Regions from separate parts of the Homo sapiens genome. Here region 2 is linked to region 1. Evidence: promoter capture Hi-C in 16 types of primary human blood cells and fetal thymus (Javierre and others, 2016). All regions are on one chromosome and are shown on one strand. The core of a region is centred on a gene start or on the middle of the fragment in contact, and the rest is flanking DNA. Distances in the headings are between cores, read along the strand shown. Region 1 holds the start of DNAJB11 (DnaJ heat shock protein family (Hsp40) member B11). Region 2 holds the start of NDUFB5 (NADH:ubiquinone oxidoreductase subunit B5).

The links. The method cuts DNA at HindIII sites, captures the fragments that hold promoters and counts their contacts. A CHiCAGO score of 5 or more calls a contact.
Region 2: a fragment that was not itself captured here is called in contact with the fragment with the promoter of DNAJB11 in region 1 in 1 of 17 cell types (non-activated CD4 T cells); the score reaches 6.6 in non-activated CD4 T cells.

What each region holds. Positions count from the first base shown.
Region 1 is chr3:186,568,885-186,574,063 of GRCh38, forward strand. It overlaps DNAJB11 (DnaJ heat shock protein family (Hsp40) member B11), which reads left to right and starts at 1,836. Exons shown (of 10, transcript NM_016306.6): 1 at 1,836-2,081; 2 at 3,211-3,367. The coding sequence starts at 2,014. It also overlaps a transcript of TBCCD1 not described here. RefSeq lists a silencer at 1,848-2,087. The HindIII fragment of the contact is 6,099 bases long and covers 1-5,136 here.
Region 2 is chr3:179,602,618-179,608,097 of GRCh38, forward strand. NDUFB5 (NADH:ubiquinone oxidoreductase subunit B5) reads left to right here and starts at 2,177. Exons shown (of 6, transcript NM_002492.4): 1 at 2,177-2,322. The coding sequence starts at 2,199. It overlaps MRPL47 (mitochondrial ribosomal protein L47), which reads right to left and starts at 2,021. Exons shown (of 7, transcript NM_020409.3): 1 at 1,910-2,021; 2 at 35-180. The coding sequence starts at 2,007. RefSeq lists enhancers at 1,311-2,177, 2,103-2,302, 2,178-3,044, 2,483-2,642, 2,673-2,762. The HindIII fragment of the contact is 2,024 bases long and covers 2,622-4,645 here.

The sequences.
Region 1 (5,179 bases), core at 586-3,085:
AGAGCGAGACTCTGTCTCAGGAAAAAAAAAGAAATAAAGAAAAGAAAACAGGGTGGTGTAAGAGTAAGGAACTCAGTAGGGGCTAATTTTGATTAATTGGTCAGGGAAAGTCCTCCCTGAGGTGGCGACCTTTAAGCTGATATATGAGTTAAAGAAGGAATCACCCATGCTAGCACATGAGGGAGAGTACAGTGTTTCAGGCAAAGGCAATAGCTAGCACAAAGGCCCTCGGCAGGAATGAGCTCGGTGTATACAAAAAAAAGAAAGGAAGCAAGTTTTGCTGGAGCATGGTTAGGAGTATAATAGGTTTACAAAGCATAAACGGCTTTGTAAACTAGCATGGAGTTGGGATTTTATTCTAAGTGCAAATGAAGAGCCATTCCAGGCTTTTAAACAGGGGAGTGACATGATTTGACTTTTATTTTTTATTTATTTATTTATTTATTTATTTTGAAACGGTGTGTCACTCTGTCGCCCAGGCTGGAGTGCAGTGGCAGGAACTCGGCTCACTGCAACCTCCACCTCCCAGGTTCAAGCAATTCTCCTGCCTCAGGCTCCCGAGCAGCTGGGGTTACAGGCGCTCGCCACCACACCTGGCTAATTTTTGTAGTTTTAGTAGAGACAGGGTTTCATCATGTTGGCCAGCCTGGTCTCAAGCTCCTGACCTCAGGTGCTCCGCCCGTCTCGGCCTCGCAAAGTGCTGATTACACTTTGGGTGGGTGAGCCACCGCGCCCGGGCTTTTTTTTTTTTTTTTTAAATCATGGAGTGAGGGACAGGGATGAGCAACATATATTAAGATATTAAGGAAGATATTAAGAGTGGGGGCAAGGAGGCCAGTTAGGAGGCCCTGGCCAGGTGAGAGATACACTGTGACCCAGAATCCTGGTAATGGAGATGTAGTGAACAGATTGAAGTATAGTTCAGAGGTAAAGAGTTGGATAGCTTATGCATGAAAGGAATAAAAACACCTAGAGCTTTGTCCTGATCAACTAGGTGTTGTGTAACTGCGATGAGCAAAATCGGGGGGAAGATGGGGAATCAAAGAGTTCTGCTTGAACCGTAATAATGGTTTTTACTCGTTGCCTGCTTACTATACGCCCGATGATTTACCGATTTTTTTCCCTGTTAAAATTCACAGAACTGCCAATAAGTGCTTTGCCTCAGTTTTGTTGATAAACTTAGGCTCAGACTTGGGAGGAGGGGAGGGGTGGGGGGTCTCACCACTAAGAAGCGGTGGAAGCCGAATCCGAACTTAAGTCGGTCTGTCATCACTGTAGCCTTTCCGAGACAGTTGTCTTATGGAGTTGCTTGGAGAACGTAAAATAAGAGGCCTAAGCAATGCGTCTGATGTACACCTGTCGTGGAATAACTGTTCCCGCTCATTCGGCCGCTGTACCTCTGCTCCCTCATTCGGAGCGTAGCTGGGTATGAATGAAATTCCGGGCTTGTAGCACAGAGAAAACTTCTCTCCCACAATTGGTTGGTGCTGGGGAGGAAGCTCCTGATTGGTGGAAAGTCCGAGGAAGTGGGCAAGCCGGAGGGATTTCGTGTACCTCAGGTGCCCTCACTCTGACCGGCCCCCTATCATTACGTAATTTTCTACGACTCGCGGTAGCTCAGGCAGAGCGGGTTCCTGCAGCGGCGCGACCCTCTGACGTCTCCGCTTCTAATTGGTCAAGAGCTGCGACTGCAGTTCTGAAGCCTAACTGGTTGCCCGTGCCGCCTCGGAGGTGAAGTGTACTGCGCTGATTGGCTTCCAGGCGCCGGCCGCGTGTGATGTCCCGGGCAACGATTGGCTCTCGCCTACCGGGGGCTTCTCTCACCGGGACTCGGGACTCCCGGGAAGTGGACCGGCAGAAGAGGGGGCTAGCTAGCTGTCTCTGCGGACCAAGGAGACCCCCGCGCCCCCCCGGTGTGAGGCGGCCTCACAGGGCCGGGTGGGCTGGCGAGCCGACGCGGCGGCGGAGGAGGCTGTGAGGAGTGTGTGGAACAGGACCCGGGACAGAGGAACCATGGCTCCGCAGAACCTGAGCACCTTTTGCCTGTTGCTGCTATACCTCATCGGGGCGGTGATTGCCGGGTGAGGAACAGACACTCGCAGACAACGGGGCCTGTGGGTCAGCCTTTGCTGGGGGGTGGGAGGGGGTGGGGGAAGTGGCATTGCCAGACTGACGGAGTGGAGAGGGGCATCGCTGTGGGTTGGCGGGGTGGCGGAGGAAGGGGTAGTATGGGCCAGGCTAGTGGGGTGAGAGGAGAACCGTGGGTGACACCAGTGAGAGGGCCTTAGGTCCAGAGAGGGTCTTAGGTAGAGCTAGATTTGCCCAGAGGAGTGGGAGTTGGATGCATTGCCAAACGGCATTTGGGGGATGAGGGAAAGAAGGTGGTTGCGAGCTGAAGCAGTGTCACGTAGAGCTGGGGAAGAAAGAGGGATGCCTGACTGTAAGGAAAGATAGTGACAGTGCCAGGCTGAGGTTGAGGGGATGGACGTTTGTTTGATCAAAGAGGTGAGTTGCTGTGCCCCGCTGAGGTGGAGAAGCGGACGATGCTCTATGCCAAGCCTTCGAAGAGCCATTCTGGGGCTGACATTAAAGTGGGTGGATGATGCCAGCCCGAGTTGGGACTGAACGAAATTGGATGCGGGATGGGAACAAGAAGATCTTTAGACAGCCCTTGTACTTCCCAGCTTCTTGAGCTATTTATTATCTTAAGTTGCTTCATCTTTAACATTCTGGCAGTGCTACTGTTAGGACATTTATGTGGCATAATCTTTTTAAAGAAGGAAAATCATCCTTTGAGAGTGTTATTTGACTTTTAGAAAAGTCAAAATCATTTGGAGCCAGTATAGGGAAAGGGGGGAAGAGTTAATTTGATTATATGGTTATTGCCTAAAGATAACATGAGACCATAAAATAAGGAAGTGGTTTTCTTGACCGAAGGTGGTTCTGAAAGAAAAGTGCCACAGATGTTTTGAATAATCCGAAAAGAAGTATATAGCCTCTTACTGTGATTACTTCAATATATAAGATTCATTACAAATTCTGGTGTTCTCTCTTTAGTCATTCTTTGTGTGTGTATGTGTCACATAAACCTTCATTTTTATACCTCTTTGCTCAGATACAAACCTAAATGTAGAGGAAAAATAAATCTTTTACTTTGAAAAATGTAACATGTAACTCTTTAATGAAGTATTCTCTCCCTCTACTTCCCAGACGAGATTTCTATAAGATCTTGGGGGTGCCTCGAAGTGCCTCTATAAAGGATATTAAAAAGGCCTATAGGAAACTAGCCCTGCAGCTTCATCCCGACCGGAACCCTGATGATCCACAAGCCCAGGAGAAATTCCAGGATCTGGGTGCTGCTTATGAGGTGAGTTGGGAAAAGTGATAAAGTACGAATAAAATCTGTAGCTCTAGAAAAAACATACAATACAGAGAAACACTCCTTTCAGCTCACATTTATTTATTTATTTATTTATTTTGAGACTGAGTCTCTATTGCCTAGGCTGGAGTGCAGTGGTGCAATCTCCGCTCACTGCAACGTCCACCTCCTGGGTTCAAGCAGTTCTCCCGCCTCAGCCTCCCAAGTAGCTGGGATTACAGGTGCATGCCACCACACCTGGCTAATTTTTGTATTTTTAGTAGAGACAGGGTTTCACCCTGTTGGCCAGGCTAGTCTTGAACTTATTATAGATTAATAAGTAGATCAACTGATTGGTCTGTCGTTCAATCAGTTTGGGAGCTAGAACCAAAAATAAAAAGAAAGCCTTCATGAGAGTTGCAAACCTGCATGTTCATATGAACTAGACAAATAACATGCAGGGCAGGTATAAGTTAAAACATGGCAGCAGATATTCTGCCTCCATATTGGGAAGCAATAAGGATTGTTGAGGACTTTGACAAACTGAAGCCTTCTGGCCCCATTTCAAGGGAGCAGCTGTTACTCAACCCCAGCCAGTTTTTGTCATACAAATGCAAACAGTATGTTCCTGGATGATTTAATTTTTCAAGAAAAGTTGAAAATCTAGATTTTTTATATGAGTTCTGCTTGTAAAAGTGTTGGTAACTAATTCAGTTAAATTTCTTTTTTACATAAATCAAACAGAGCACAGTTTTAATTTGATTTTGCAACCTCTAATCTGGGGATCAAAACACTCTCATGTGTATCATCTCATTTAATCTTCACTAGGACACCAGGAAATATATTAGAGCTAGGCATATTTTTATTCTCATTTTCTAAATGGACACAGAAAAAAATTAATTGAACTAAAAGTCATAGAGCTAAAACTCCTGAATTTAAGTTTAAATTCTTGTATATTGAGAAGGCTAAAAACAAATTGAAAAATATTTTAGGAAGACACAAACCTTGAAAGGAAGGAATCCCAAGATCTCTAGATTAAAGAAGCAATGGAATTGAAACAGTGAGTTATACCCAGGTGAACCCAAGAGCTGTTGGGGTCCTTTCATCTTTCAACACCTTCAGGGATCCTATGGGGCAGAAATTCTTTTTTATTTTTTTTTGAGACAGAGTCTCGCTCTGTCTGCCAAGCTGGAGTAGAGTGGCACGATCTCGGCTCACTGCAAGCTCCGCCTCCTGGGTTTTACGCCATTCTCCTGCCTCAGCCTCCTGAGTAGCTGGGACTACAGCTGTGCACCACCATGCCCAGCTAATTTTTTGTATTTTTAGTAGAGACAGGGTTTCACTGTGTTACCCAGGATGGTCTCGATCTCCTGACCTCATGATCCACCCGCCTCGGCTTCCCAAAGTGCTGGGATTACAGGCATGAGCCACCGTGCCTGGCCAAGGGACAGAAATTCTTAACCTGAGGCACATCAATAAACTTGGGAAGGTTAATGGCCCATCCTAAATTATATGTAATATTTTGTTTCTTGTTGATAATATGCATTCTATATTTTGCACTGTATTTTCCATGAATAGTCCCCTTGTTTGCTAGGAACCTAATACTCAAAAACATTTTCTAGGGAAGCTGAATTTACCATGCTCTCTAAAGAATCTTCACGTTCTTTATCAATGACCTAGGCAGGCTATACAAAGGTCAGTCATGAAATCGTGGCTTATTTAACTATAACAATCCTTTTAGCCACTAGTTCAAATTTCTGTTTTCTTTTTATCATTCAAGCTTGATTGCCTTTAGTCTTAGGTAAATTAGTGTTCACAAAT
Region 2 (5,480 bases), core at 2,384-4,883, 7.0 Mb before region 1:
ATATATCTAATGTTGACAAATCCAAGTATCTCACCAGATTTTACTTTTTCTTGCCCCCAGTTTTTTGGGTCATCAAAAAATTCTTCTAGTCCTTTCCTTGACAATGTGGTATGAAGTAATCTATATTGGTGAAAGGATGTCACATTTGGTGTACTCTTAGGCAACAAACTAAGAAAAAACCTGCAATTGAACACACATAAACAAGTAAAAGTTTTATAATATCTGGATTTTATAAGCAATAAACATTATCATAATAAACATAATCATTTTGTCATCGATAACATTTTAAAAAGCTACTCAGGGTTTCTGCACAAGAATTAATTTTTTTTTCTTATTTAGAGACTGGGTCTCACTATGTTGTCCAGGCTGGTCTCGAACTCCTGGGCTCAAGTGATCCTCCCACCTTGGCCTCCCAAAGTGCTGGAATTACAGGGATGAGCCACCATGCTTGGCCACAATAAATTTTGAAAATGCTTTAGAAAGTATTGTTAATACTGCATTATAGAAGCTGCTACCTTATAATTTCAGAGGTAACATAGTTACACAATTATATTTTAAGGTAACATTTTTGGGTCCTTCTTACATTGCTAATGGGTGCAAGCGCAGGTAAAAAGAGCAGTCAATTTTGCAACATGTGGGCTGGGCACGGTGGCTCACACCTGTTATCCCAGAAATTTGGAAGGCCGAGGTGGGAGGATCACTTTGAGCCCAGGAGCTCAAGACCAGCCTGGGCAAGATGGCAAAACCTCATCTTTAACAAAAATACAAAAATTAGCCAGGCATAGTAGCACGTGCCTTATAGTCCCAACTACTCGGGAGGCTGAGGTGGGAGGACGCTTTGAGCCTGGGAGGCAGAGGTTTCAGTGAGCTGAGATCACACCATTGCACTCCAGCCTGGGCGACAGAGTCAGTCCCTGTCTCAAAAAACAAAAACAAAAAAACCTCACAATTTTGCAACATGTATCAGGAGCCTCAAATACTTCCTCCTTTAATTCAGTAATTCTGCATCTAGAAGTTTCAACTGAAAAAATTATTATAGATGGGAATTTATAAATTAAGATGTTTATTAAAGCACTATATAGGATGTCAAGTTTTTAATTATGTAAATACGCAGCTAAGAATGGTTTAAAAATTACTGTGCATCTGGATGATAAATTATTATGCAGTAATTCAAAAATCCTGTTTTTAAAAAATAGTTAACGACCTGAGATGATTTGAAACTAAATAATGAAGTTTATCACAAGTGTTGTATCCCTACCAAAAATATTTAGCCTAAATCTTATAATGAGGAAACAATCAGACAAATCCAAATGAATAAGATTCTTAAAAAGCTAATCTCATCAAAATGTCAACAACATTAAGAAAAAAAAAAAAAAGAAATTGTTCCGGATAGAGACTAAAGAGTCATGGCAACCAATGTAATAAATGGATACTTCACTGGATCCAGGACCAAGAAAAATAAATAAATAAAAGAAGTTACTAAGTTACCAGTTACTTTCATTGTAACACATCCTGTAAATACAAATATCTCTTCTTTTTTAATCCATCCAAACTTGACACAGACTTGAGTATCACAACAAAAACATCTTCGGTAAAGTTTTTCGCACCTCACCCAGCCCAAGAGGATGCTTCTGTACTTATAGATGTATTTACTTCAACAAATGCTGGACATCTACAAACCCCATATACTGTCTTGTCCACAGCAGGCAGCAACAAAATGAGGAAGGAATAGAAATGTCGGAGGTGAGCGACTTCTCCAAGGTCACTCACTCCTCACCAAAGTGGGCTCCGGCTCTGCCATCCAGGCGGCCGTTCCATTCTTGAGTTGTTCTCGGCATCTCGGCATCTCGGCAACCAAACAAGATCCAAAGTTGGAGAGGTGGGCAAACCTACTTTATACATCACTTACCCTGTGCAGGCAGGGACCTGAGGAGTTATTAACGATCGGGAAGATTTCAGGGCGGATGAAACTCTCCTACAAAGAAGGGCCAAACCGGCCGCAGCCATGTTTTCGCATAACTGGCAAAACGCGTTTCCGCCAACGATAGCGTCACTTCCGGCGTCTCAAGCCGGCGGTGAGGAGAATAGAAAACTTGCCCTCACTTAAGATGGCCACATCCTGCCTTTGTCCTCATTGGTAAATTGGCTCTCTCAGCTTCCGTGACCCGCCTCCCTTCTTCCTCCTGCCCGTAGTAGCCATGGCGGCCATGAGTTTGTTGCGGCGGGTTTCGGTTACTGCGGTGGCAGCTCTGTCTGGCCGGCCCCTTGGCACTCGCCTCGGATTTGGGGGCTTCCTCACTCGTGGCTTTCCGAAGGCTGCTGGTGGGTGCTGGCCTAGGGAGAACGGGCGTGAAGCGGGTGCGGGGCGAGAAAAGGGAGGACGCTTCCAGGGTGACCTTGGTGGGATCCGGAGGGAGCCGGGACAAGTTGTGGGCTTGGGGCTTGACAGGAGAGACGGAGCACGAGCTATATGAGGGGTTTTCCTGAAGTAGCCAGATAGATCGTGTTTACATTATTAGCATTTCTAAAACGTTGTTATTCACCATCCCAATTAATGCTAATTTGCGGATGAAGCTGAGTCTAGAAAGGTATAGAGCTGAGATCTGTATCTCTAGGGCACAAGCTTATTGTTGCGTTCCACCTGCCCAAAGGCTAGGTTCTAGTCCCACAGATGCAAAGTCATCTTGCCGAGAAGCCCACCTATGCTAAGGAATATGAAGACAGGTAATATGTAGACAGGTAAAGAGGCTCAGGGCCAACTTATTCTTTAGGCACAGTAAGTACCGTGCCGCCCAATAATGAGATGCAGATGAACTGGGGAGGAAGAGAGGTTTTTGTTTTGTTTTGTTTTGTTTGTTTGTTTTTTGAGACAGAGTCTCACTCTGTTGCCCAGGCTGGAGTGCAGTGGCGCGATCTTGGCTCACTGCAACCTCCGCCTCCTGGGTTCAAGCGATTCTCCTGCCTGAACCCATGATAGTTTTAGGGGTCTACGAAAGTCTTTTAATTTAAATTTCTTTTTTAAAAAAACCATAATGTTTATGAATATGATAACGAATCCAGCCTGTATTATGTTCGTTTTATACCAATGCAGTCATAAAATATTATTTTTAATAACTTAGACGAAGGGGCCCTTGAAGGCAAAAGTGCCTAGGTCTCAGGAAAGTCATAATACAGTCTTTTTTTTTTTTTCTTTTGAGACAGTCTCACTCTGTCACCCAGGCTGGAGTGCAGTGGCACCATCTTGGCTCACTGCAATCTCCACCCCCCGGGTTCAAGCGATTCTCCCGCCTCAGCCTCCCCAGTAGCTGAGGCTACAGGTGCACACCACCACGCCTGGCTAATTTTTGTATATTTAGTAGAGATGGGGTTTCACCATGTTGGCCAGGCTGGTCTCGAACTCCTCACCTCAAATGATCCGCCCACCTCAGCCTCCCAAAGTGCTGGGATTATAGGCGTAAGCCACTGCACCTGACCAATACAGTCTTAATAGGGCTATTTGGACCTCCTTGGAGACAGTGAGTTGCATCATGGCGGTGTGAATAATCATAGCAAAGATCAAATGCTTGATATTCAGTGTACTTTATTATCTCAGAGACTCTGCAAAGAAATTACAATGTTATTTTCATTTTACAGATGAGGAAACTGACTCAATTATTAAATAATGTGTCACTAAATAATAGCCAACATTTACTGAGCACCTGTTACGTGTCAAGCATCCTTTTTTATTTTTATTTTTTTCAAGACGGAGTCTTGCTCTGTTGCCCAGGCTGGAGTGCAATGGCGTGATCTTGGGTCACTGCAACCTCTGCCTCCTGCGTTCAGGCGATTCTCCTGCCTCAGCCTCTTGAGTAGCTGGGATTACAGTTGCACGCCTCCATGCCCGGCTAATTTTATGTGTTTTTAGTAGAGATGGGGTTTCATCATGTTGGCTAGGCTGGTCTCGAACTCCTGACCTCGTGATCCACCTGCCTTGGCCTCCCAGAGTGCTGAGATCACAGGCGTGAGCCACCCCACCTGACCTCAAGCATCATTTTAAGGGTTTAAAGTATTAATTTATTTAATCCTCTTCATTAGATATATACTGTAAGCTATTTGCCCTGTGCAATAGAAGCAGGTAAAGAGGAAGTGAAACACTTAAAGTCAGAAAGTTGTCTCCAGCCTCAAAATATCTTGTTCTCTTTTTACCCCTATTCTCCCAGTTTAATTTGAATTATGCCACTCCACAGGATGAGGCAATATACATAGGGATTTGCTGGAAACATGATGCAAAGAACCAGTGGTATTTAACAAATTTCCAGCAGGAATTTGAACTTGTTACAAAACTACATTCCTTGATGAAAATCCCTTTATAAGCCATTTCTGATTACAGATATTCTCATATAGCCAAATACAAATCCTTCAAATACTCGCTCTGGTAGTATTCAATCAAATCCAGCTGGAGATAAACTGCAGCAAAATTTCACCCCCAGTTTCTCTTTCCACATTATTGCCCTTTCTTGGGGTTCTCAAAGGATCATTACCGTGTTCTGCGCCCTTTCCAATCAGAGCAGGGAAGGTTCTAATAGCTATGTTTACTAAAGGTTACTGTGTTTTCAGCTGTGTACCTGCTTTCAAAGGTATTTTGCATCTGTCACTGTGATATGAAAGCTTTTAATCTCTTACATGGTTGTTTATATCTGTCCCTACAAGAATGTAAGCTCTAATGTAGTAGAGAGCCTGTCTTGTTTTGTTTTTTCTGGAGATAGACTGCCTATCTTCAAATTCTGGCTCTAGAATTCAGAAGCCATGTCTGTGATCATCACATCTTGGAAGCTAAAGTGGAAGACACCTAATTGCTCATAACCTGCATTTCCTCCTCTTTAAAAAAGATGAGAATTTTAACCTGCCTCAAAAGGTAGTTGTGAAGAGTGAGTGGAAAAAATCAACAGTGCCTGGCAGCAGTAGCCTTTAAAAAAATTGTGGTAAAGTACACATAACATTTACTATTTTAACCATTTTTAAGTGCACCGTTCAGTGGTATTAAATACATTCCTAATGCTATGCAACCATCACCATCATCCAACTCCAGAACTTTTTTCATATGGTAAAACTAAAACTCTGTATCCGTTAAACAATAACTCTCCATTCCCCTTCCACGTAGCCCCTGGTAACCACCATTCTGCTGTCTTTATGATTTTGACTACTCTATTTCTCATGTAAGTAGAATCATATAATATTTGTCTGTCACTTAGCATAATATCCCCAAGGCATATTTATGTCGTAGCATATGTCAGAATTTCCTTCCTTTTTAAAGCTGAATTGTCCGTTGTCCATTGTATGTATTTACCCCATTTTGCTTATCCATCATCTGTCAATTGGGTTGCATCTAGGTTTTGTTTGTTTGTTTGTTTGTTTTGTTTTTGAGACAGAGTCTTGCTCTGTCTTCCAGGCTAGAGTGCAGTGGCACCATCTTGACTCACTGCAACCCCTGGCTTCCCGTG